2 separate regions of the Homo sapiens genome follow, and region 1 is linked to region 2. Evidence: promoter capture Hi-C in human tissues and cell types (Jung and others, 2019). All regions are on one chromosome and are shown on one strand. Each heading gives the region's core, a stretch centred on a gene start or on the middle of the fragment in contact. The rest is flanking DNA. Distances are from core to core; before and after follow the strand shown.

Region 1 (5,279 bases), core at 1,645-4,144, 1.1 Mb before region 2:
ACAGAAAACCAAATACCACATGTTCTCACTTATAAATGGGAGCTAAATGATGAGAACACATGATCACATGGACACATAGAGGGGAACAACACACACTGGGGCCTATCAGAGGGTAGAGGGTGGAGGAATCAGGAAAAATAACTAATGAGTACTGGGCTTGATACCTGGGTGATGAAGTAATCTGTACAACAAACCCCCATGACACAAGTTTACCTATGTAACAAATCTGCACATGTACCTCTGAACTTAAAAGTTTAATTAAAAAAATTTTTTAGAAGTTTATCTTATTTTTCTTTGGAGCAGCATAAATAATATTTCAAATCACAAAAAGAAAACAAAATCACTTCATATCAGCATTGTATGGAACTTTCCATTTTTCTGTGTCCTATTATAGCTCTGTCTTTACAGATACATTTTTTTACCTAGTTCATTCATTACTGAATACCTATCATGTTAAAGACATTGCAACAGGTACCATGGACTTAGCAGTAAAAGAGAGAATACATGTTTCACAAGTTAGAAGCAGTGGTAGATAAATGTGCACACAATTACAGTACTCATTGAGTGCTGTCTTGGAGGAAAGTGAAAAGCACCACGGAGGACATAGGAGTGGCATCTAACACAGACTGGGAGGGCACTGCAGGGGAAGAGGAGCATTCAAAAAAGGCCTCCTAGAGAGGCCAGCATCTAAGTTAAATTAAGGTGAAGAAATACTTTCTTATTTTGCTTTTTCCACTTAGCTAAAAGTCATAGTGGACTCCAACGACACTTTCATGACTCTAAAAGTCCTTCCAGAAAGCTTGATTGGTTACCTGGTAGGAGACCCTGAAACTGCCTAGCTGAGGCATGAGCTGGTTCAGGGGCACATGGTCAGTCAACAGATCCACTTGGTGTCATGGGCAAATTGAGACCCAAGCTGGAAGACAGAACCAGAAATGTGAAGAGATCTGGGGGTTGAATACGGGGCATTGCAGCTGAATCTGGAGACCAGATATTTCTAAGTAGGACTGCTTCATCCTCCACAATTTTAAGAAGTGATATCTTCTGTTTCGGGTGAAAGGTTTAGTATGGATTGGACAGGGGAATAATTTCACCTGGCCAAAATCCTCAGTTGGGAGGGTTTTTTTTCTGAGGTCACATGAGGTCTTCACTGAATATCTGTGCTTCCTAGTGTCTTCCAAGGTTCCTGAGGACCTAATATTGGTTCCTACTGGTTACTTTCCTGTTCTGGGATTCCCTTATGCTGCCTTGCTTGGAAGCTGTGATAGAAAGCGAGGATTTTGAGCAAGGAGCCCTGGGCTCACCTAAGTGTCTGAGCCTCAGTTCCTCATCTGAAATGTTAGACACAATCACAGGGTGATTGTATGGAGCAGGTAGGAGTACATTTGTGAAAGTGTCTTATAAATTATGAACTACTATGTAGATAGCTCTTATTCTTACAGTTTAGAGATTCCTAGTCTTAGAGATGAGAGAAGTGAGGCCTGATAGTTTAGAAATGTCCTGGAAATGATGCCGAGCTTATAGAAATAAAAGGGGCTCCACTAATTGCCAAAGTAATGGAGCCTCAGGTTCTACCTTTACCTGGGATTGAAAGCACCTAGGGAGTGGACTAAACCATAGAGGTGAAGAGATGGAAAGAATTCTCACCAGCATTAGTCATCAACCTGGACAAATAAATGGCTGGTGGTCATCTAGAAACTTTTCATTAACAGTTTTTCCTGGATTGGTTTTAGGAATCAAAGCTTTGGCTTTGACACATTATTACACATTATTGGTGTAATAATGATCCCAACTGCAATCCTTCATATCTGCAAGGCACTTTAAAATTACCAAACACTTAGGCGTACACTATTCATCTGATTATTGCAGTACCATGGGAGGTACAGACAAGACAGATAGGTTCTTTGATGCCCAATGAATAAATTATGGGTAAGTGGTTTGTCTGAGGAGAGAAGGAATCATATACCAGGCACTACAGTACGTTCTTATGATACCCTGTGCTTTTAATCCTCTCAAGAACTCCATGAGAGGGGAGTTTAATCATGGCTTGATAGCTTAGTAATTAAATTTGCAGAGAGAGTAAGAAGTCAAATAAAGTCACACACAAGCAAGTGGCAGATGAGTGAGTGGAATGCAGGTCAGTTCTCTGACTCAAAGTCCTGTGTTATTTCCACCTTCCTCCTTAAAAAAAAGGAAAAGAAAAAGAAACTCTGTCTTACCTCCAATTGTTTCCAAATGGAAGCATATGGTTGGGCTGGTTGTTGAGTCTGAAATAAATAGCTTCTTTTAGACTGTTGAGACAGCCAAATGCTTTCAATATGCTCCCAAGGTTGGTGATTGGGTCTGAATAGAAGCCAGATGTTCTGGATTCCAGAGCTATTTCCTTGTTGCATGCTCTCCCCAACCCCCAACCCTCCATTAAATGGAGGGAAGGGAAGGTGAGATCAGACTGACTGATTTTGCTTTTTCACATCTTTCTCTTTGGAAGAAGGAGGTGAGGGAGTAGTTGAGATTGCAGTTGGGATGAAGCAGGCTGTGGGCTTGGGGTGGGATGTGGACTAGAAGAAAAATCACCAGAAAGAATGTGCAATCGCTTATTCCAGGCCTTTAGAATCCCTTTGCTGCCTGACCTTTCTGTACTCCTTCACAGTTGACAGCCCAGACTCGGCTTCCCGCTAGGAGGAAGTGCCCTGCAGTTAGTCTGCTGATTACTAAAACAGAACCATCATAGCACTTGGCAGCTCCGCTTCCTCCAAGCACTTTGGCAGATTTTTTTTTTTTTTCGATTTCTTGTTTTATTACTGTTTGTCAGACTGGGGAGCCTTTGAAGTTCTTTACAGATCTGACTTTTATCAGAGCATGTAGGAGTTGGGGGGTGGGAAATGGGTTGGATGCAACCCATCAAAATATTCTATTCTGCACCCAATGAACTCACCCCCACTACGTCTTTGTCTGAAAAGCTTTGTGACATGGTGTTTCTATACGTGGCCTGCCTTCCAGATGAGAGAGTGACATCTATTGTCGTAATATGGGGAGGAAGTTATGATTGCTTAATGATAGCATGTCGCAGCTTGTCGCTTCTTTATTTTCCTTTTAAATACTTGCTGTCACAGCAACACACAATTGGCCTTCAATCCTGGGGCTGAGGCTGGGACCTCATGTGGTACAAGGTGGTGCAAAGATGACTTATTGGTAAAGCTGGGGAAAACAAAAGTGAATACAAAATATTTCTGTATGCCTGGCTTGGTTCTCTCCTCCTCCCACCTTGATATGAGGCAGAGGACTTTTGACCATGTTGGCTGGCACTTTGTACACTGGCCTTGAAAGCACCGACACCGGCTTAAGCATGCTTGGTCTCCCAGATTCTGATGATCTTTCCTTGTCTGGTTTACTCTTAGAATCTAGAGGGCATTGTTCATGGAAACAGCAAGCAAAGGGTAAGAATGGTTCAAGTCTCTACTGGTTGCAGCAAATTTATTCATTCTGTGCTACCACTTGACTTAGCTTTCTGACAACAACAGTGACAACAAAAATCATTTCGATCCTATTTAATAATTAAATGTTAATCTCTTTTGTTCAAACGATGAAATACAAATTCCTCATGCCAACATGTAACATCTGTCTCGATCTGGTTCAGACCTACCAAAATCCACCTCCCACCACTTCAGATCCTTTGTGGTAGCCAGGCATCGTTCTTTGTTTCCTTAAATAAAATAATTTAAATTATGGCACATTTCAAACATAGGAAACAACTAGAAAACACATAGACACTTGTGAATCCATCATATAACTAGATGGGTACATTTTAAAAAATAACATTGAATGTAAAAAGAAAGTTGAAAAAAATATGTGCAGTTATATTTAAATTACTATTTAGTATTACTTATGCAAACTTTTAAGCACCCAAAGCCTTTTCTGTTTTCATCTGGCAAGTGTCTATTATCCTTTATGGCTCAGTTCAAATATCACTCCCCTCTCAAGTCTGTGACTTGTTCAGCAGAGTAACTCTTCCTCCTTTGTGACTTCCTGCCACTCATTTATACGGTTTTCCATTACTAGTTAATACTGCTGGTGTTATAATTTCTAATTTCATGATGGTCTCCTCCACTAAGCTGTGAGCTCCTTAAGGATAACGACTGAGTTGCATTTTTCTTTGTCCACTTGGGACATAAACCCATGATAATTGTCTTGCAAGTTTTGTCAGACTAAAATATCATTATATGGCACAAAACCATGATCTAACTATAGGCACACTAAAGTACAATTTAAAGTTTGATTCCCAGTCTTTTTTGTTTGTTTGAGACTGAGTTTCACTGTATCACCGAGGTTGGAGTGCAGTGTGCGATCTCGGCTCACTACAACCTCTGCCTCCTGGTTTCAAGTGATTCTCATGCCTCAGCCTCCCAAGTAGCTGGAATTACAGGTGCCTGCCACCACACCTGGCTAATTTTTTGTATTTTTAGTAGAGATGGGGTTTCACCATGTTGACCAGGCTGGTCTCGAACACCTGACCTCAAGTGGTCCTCCCGCTTCGGCCTCCCAAAGTGCTGGGATTACAGGCATGAGCCACTGCACCCAGCCAGATTCCCAGTCTTAATAGCAACAACAGCTATCTTTTACTGTTTACAAAGTGCTTTCAAATTCATTAACTCTATTTTGCTTCATTATAACTCTTTAAAGTATGTACTGAAGACAGCATTGCTATTAAATGAAAGAAGAAACTGTGATTTAGAGAAGTTAAATGACTTGTTCATTGCCACACAGCTCAGAGGTGATGGAATTATCTCACTGGCTTTAAATGAAATGCTCTTTTATTATGAGTTTTTGAATTGGTGTTAACACCACAAATCAATTCCTCCTTTTCTCTATTCCTTTCTTCTTCTACCTTCCTTCTTCTTTCTCCTCATTTTTTAATTCTTGTAACAAATGTTAATTGAATACCATCTATCTGCATTGTATTAGCTTCTGGGGATAAAATAATAATTAAAACTAGTCCTGCTTGTGGCTCCTGTGGAGATAACAGTCATCTGGAGAACTTGAAATCCTTCTAAACGATACACAGCATGCAGGCTGGTAAATGTTTGGTAACTCCTTGCAAGACTGTGTTATGCTAGAATGGTGGTAGTAAGATGAAATGTTTCCTGATGCTTTGACAGAGTTCTGAGCACTTTGAGATTCTTTCCGAAGTTAATTGGGAGGGGGGGAATTAATTCACTTTGTTTAGCTCTTAAGAGCTCTTCCCTCTGTAGTGAATTGCTTAATGGTAGAGGCTTTGATGC
Region 2 (5,013 bases), core at 2,370-4,869:
CAACCTCCGCCTCCGGGGTTCAAGCGATTCTCCTGCCTCAGCCTCTTGAGTAGCCAGGACTACAGGCATCTGCCACCACGCCCAGTGAATTTTTGTAGTTTTAGTAGAGACGGGGTTTCCCCATGTGGACCAGGCTGGTTTCGAACTCCTGACCTCAAGTGATCCACCCGCCTCGGCCTCCCACAGTGCTGGGATTACAGGCGTGAGCCTTGAACATGGGCAGAAAAGTCCTGATATCTGCCAGCAAATTATTTTCACCCCTACAATCACATTTCAGTATCATAAATGTGCCTTTAAGTAATCATGGCAGAAGCCGGTCTCCCCACCTTAGAGAAACTGAGGAGGAAAATGGTCAAAATAACCAAGCCTAGTTTACCCAAGACATTAGCGAAGCAGAGGAAAAAGGACCGACATTGACTCCAGCACAGGGCTCTTTCTCAGATGCAAGTATTCCCCTAGAAAGCCTTCCCTTCTCTTCTCCCTGAAGGTGGTGGCCTTAACATCGCCTCTAGGCCTGCTTCCTTCAGGCAGCTTCTGCTTCCAGCCCTAACCTGTGCTGCCAGTGTCCTCTTAACCTCACTCAAAGGTCAGAGGGCAAGAAGCTGGACAGTGTCTGAGCCCACCACCCCTTATCTCTCCATCTCCCATGCGCTGCATGTCACACAGCCCGTTATCACACCATTGTAGAGTTGTGGCTGGTTTCTTGTGACCATGTTTCCTGGTTCCCATCCTGGTACATTGACATGCCTGTATCTGCATCTGCTTGCTCTCCTCCTTAAATTGTAAATTTCCTAAAAGCAGGAATGAAATTTTATTCCCCAGCTCACTGCACCTCCATAGAACCACACTCAAGTCAAGCAGTACTGTTGGAAAACATCACCATTCCTTAGGTTTAAACGTTGAAGGGGAAAGTCGTGATTACAAAGTGGAACTTGGCTTAAGGCTAAAAGTAGGACCATATAATTTATTGTCACATCTTGACACTTTTGAGAGTGAAGGGGGTGCTATTCATAACCACCAGAGACAACTTAGAAACCAGGTCTGCCCCAGGGAAACACAGAGGCAATGGTCATCCTTGCTAGAAAGATCATTCCAAATAGATGTTAGTTACTCCAGAGTTCCAAGAGGGGCACCTCAAACCCCTTCAGTCACCAACCTGTGCTTGCATTCTGAAGGGTCTGCACCAGATAGAACTTGTGGCAGAAAGCCCAGTACAGGGAAGTTCTTCCTTTTATCTGACTCAAATCCTTACAGATTCAAATTAATTCCACTTCTTATTAACCTCAGAGCAAGAGGCAACAATGGCATAGGAAGGCAGCCACAGAGAAGAAAAATCTCACCCTTGTACCCTCACCCTCCGGTTAGGAATTCCTCATTATGAGTTTGACTGCTAGTTCTCCATCCTTCAGCTGAACCAAACTCAATCTGGCTGGCCCAGAAACTCAAAAGCCCAGGGTTTGGGAGTCACTCCCAGTGAGAACAGAGTTCATGTCCAACCTGCCCCACATCCCCTGGAGCTTTTCATAAACCAAACCCAAGAAAGAAATGGCACATGTACACATATTTTTGAAACCAGAAAACTTTTTCCTCAACCTAAACTATAGCTTCAGGGGACCTGAGCACTGGGAGGGATTGTCTCCCACCAGCCCCCAACTCCCAGTTCCCAGAATGCTGATTCAAGAGCACAGCAGAGCTGGGCTGACTGCGGAGGCCCAATGAAGAAGTGGGCCACTCCTCCTCCTTCTCCCACCCTCCATCAGCCCCATGCTGGTGTCGCTGTTAAGAGCAAGGACCTTGATGACTTCTTTTTGTTCATACACATATTTGTCATATGGGGTGGGGACAGGGGGACAAGGATCTGGGCCCAAGAGGAACTGAGCATGCAGGTTCCTGCAGCCTGTGGCCACCATTAGTTACATGCCCTGGGGCACACATTCTTGCCCAGGGACCAATAGTGGAGGGAAATCCAACGCTCCCACCCAGTCACCACCATCCTTTCCCCCTTTATACCAGATCTATTTTATTTTAGAAAGGAGGTATTTCAGCAGCATTGCATAAAGACAGGGTGACTGCAGTCAAGCAAAGGTCACTGAGACAATGCAGACAAAAACTAGAGAGCAGGCCACCTTCCCGGTATGACCTTGGACTAGTCACTTCACCATTCCACGCTTCAGTTTCTTCACCAACAAAATGACACAATAGGGTGATATGTTTACAAGGTTCGTCCTGGATCCAAGGGTTGAACATTTAACTCTGTATTTCCTGAAGAAATGGCTAAAGTGAAATTAGTGAGAAAAGGCAGAACTCAGGGTAATCTTTTATTAATAATTTCTACTTCAAAAGGAACAATTTGACTCTAGAAAACAAGTGTATTTACCCCCTCCTCTGGTCCTACTTTTTCTCCCCCACCGACCTTATACTTTTGCTGATGTCAATCTTAACTGCAGGACTGGGAGTCTCATGAGGCAATAACACGGTCAAATTAATTTTGCCAGTGCTGATCCTAACCTACAAACTCCATCTGCAATTCCTCGCAGTAAGTCTGACCATAAAAGTGAAATTCACGTTACTTATGATCTAATAAACCTATTGCCTGGGTAGAAATAAATCACTTATAGAATAATAATGCCCACCAAATTTCCTGCAGTCCTTTCAAATCTCCAAGTGCCATGAGGGGTATTCCTCTCCAAAATAAAGTTATCTTGACGGGGGTGGGAGAGTCAGCATCTTGAAGGGTGGGGAAGAAGGAATGGAGAGCATCTCACACGCTCGCCAAAAATTAAAAATTAAAAATTCAGCCTTTACACACGCACACACATACACACACCTCTTGTCTGACTGTACAGAGATAGTCGACAAGCTTTCAGGTTTGCCCACTTTTATTGTGCTAATAATGCTAAGTGTGGAAACCCCCACCTCGTGCTGTTCTGTGTAAGTGTACCGCAACTGCAGGGTGCTCGCCTCCACTGCCAACTGATGATACACTAAAGAAAGCCCGTTTTTTATCCAGATGTAAAATGAAGCTGCACCCCTCCTATACCTGCCGGAAACTACATCTCTCTGCACACACCCTGGGGTAATACGCACTGCACCCGGCGAGTTACCTGGAATACGTTTACTAAATCGACAGGAAGAAGGAAAGATCAATGCGATTCAAGTGCTGACGGTTGTACTCGTGAAGGAAAAAAACAAATGCAAGCCGGGAAGTCCCCAGTGGTGCCTGCACCTAGGAGGCGACTGCAACGGATGGATGCGGGGGTGAGGAAGTGCAGGGAGAGGAAAAAACTGGAGGGAGGCGGGTTGCAAAACTGCTCACCTGTCCGTACACCTTGATGGGCTCGGGCTGCAGGGCAGCGCTCCGTTTCCTCCGGAGCGGCTTCTCGTCCGCGCGGCTCGCCCCCCTGGCATCCCCGCGCGCCCACAGCCGCAGCTCGCGCGGGTCGCCCTGCACCACGAGGAAGCCCCGGTCCTGGGGCAAGGGCGCGCTGCCGCCGTGCAGCCTCTGCGTCCAGACTTCGCAGAGAGCTCCGGGCGGCAGCAGTGCGACCAGGGTGAATAGGAACGGGAGTCGCGACTCCCTCCTGCTGCTCCGTGTCGCCATGTTCGGGCGAACGCTACTGCAGGTGGCGCCGCCGCCAGGAGAGAATGTGCAGCGCGAGGCCAGGAGAGCCGCTGGGCCGGGACCGCGCGCGCCGCTCCCGGGGCTCCAGGCCGCCCGCGCCGCTCCGGGCCGCCCCGCTGCGCCCGCCGCCGCTGCCGCCAGGTCCCGCTCGGTTCGGCGCGGCGCCGTCACGTGTGAGGCTCGCAGCGCGTCCCTTTCGCGCACTTTCTGCGCTCGGCGGCCTCGGCGGCGACTCCGGCCCCTCCCTGGCGCGGGGATGGGGAAGTTAAGGCAGCGAGCGCCGGTGGGGGTGCGTCCCTTCCCTGGCGGGCACACCTCCTTGTTCTCCCTGCAGGAATGAAGAGTTGCATGGGGCTCGCTCGTTTTCTCTGGAGTTAGTTGCGTCCTATACAGGGTCGTGTCGAGGTCGTCCTAAACCGTGGCCACTTTCCTGAGTGCACAGCCCGCAGTAGCGCCACAAGACCACCTCCCCCCGGCCCCGGCCTCATCCCCACCTCCAGGGAAGAGTCCAGAGCCACAGAATTAGCTCCTAGAACGCAACCAACAAGAGTCCAGATGAACCCGCTCTATTGGGAAACTCACAGTTTTTCATCTACTCTGGGCACCACAACGTATTTGCAGGGGCCACAGCAAAAACTACCCTTGATCAAGCTACGTGCCCCAGCCTGAAGCACAGCAAATAAACATCCTGCACAGAGGCAGTAAAAACAAGGGTACATCTGACAAAGAATGCACCACACCTGGACAATTATTACACAGCTATACAGGGTGTGCTTGCACGCACGCATGAATACCTGTGCGTGGCACAGGGCCCCAGCGGCGGCTTGCTTATGATCCCTCCAAGGTGACCAAGCACTGAGCCACCCTGCCTCAGCAGTAAAATAGACATATTTACCAGTCCCTTCAACCCACAGCCAGGAGCTAGGCAAACACCCACAGAGGAGGGAGGACACACTTTAACCCTACATTCAGCTTGACGAGCCAAACTCTCTGAACCACAGGAGATAAAACTTCTGCCATGGAACTGCTAAGGTACGCCCAAGGAAAATATTTTTTTTGCAGGTTAGTGGGAGCAGCCAAAGTCTATGTACTACTGCAACCTTTCCTATTTCATTTTATGTTTCACTGCCCTCTGAACTCAGATCCTGGTTTTTGATAAGAATAAAGACACAGCAAGCAGGGCTGAAAGGGAGACTACCTTTATAGTTGCATACAAGCTGCTGTTCAGGGGAAGGAAGGGATGGTCAGTTCAATTTTCTAAAAACATTCCTCATCTCCGACAAGCCACGGTAGCCCGATTCCTACCCCGGCCCACTCTAGTACTTTTCAGGTAGCTTAGCAAAGCCCCCTCCTCTACCTAGGACTACCACTGACAACCTGCCAGAGTCAGG

The links. Contacts are between HindIII fragments. The study calls those that stand out against the background at their distance.
Region 1: a fragment that was not itself captured here is called in contact with the fragment with the promoter of SORL1 in region 2 in 1 of the 25 tissues and cell types used here (hippocampus).

What each region holds. Positions count from the first base shown.
Region 1 is chr11:122,521,787-122,527,065 of GRCh38, reverse strand. No RefSeq gene overlaps it. Among named protein-coding and RNA genes, the nearest start is that of TRK-TTT2-1, 36 kb to the left of the region's middle. The HindIII fragment of the contact is 3,246 bases long and covers 1,272-4,517 here.
Region 2 is chr11:121,450,920-121,455,932 of GRCh38, reverse strand. SORL1 (sortilin related receptor 1) reads right to left here and starts at 3,619. Exons shown (of 48, transcript NM_003105.6): 1 at 3,317-3,619. The coding sequence starts at 3,601. It overlaps SORL1-AS1 (SORL1 antisense RNA 1), which reads left to right and starts at 2,966. Exons shown (of 3, transcript NR_183636.1): 1 at 2,966-3,258. RefSeq lists silencers at 1,609-1,658, 3,503-3,552, 3,683-3,732 and enhancers at 2,783-2,832, 2,853-2,922, 2,963-3,012, 3,023-3,212, 4,603-4,662. The HindIII fragment of the contact is 11,875 bases long and covers 1-5,013 here.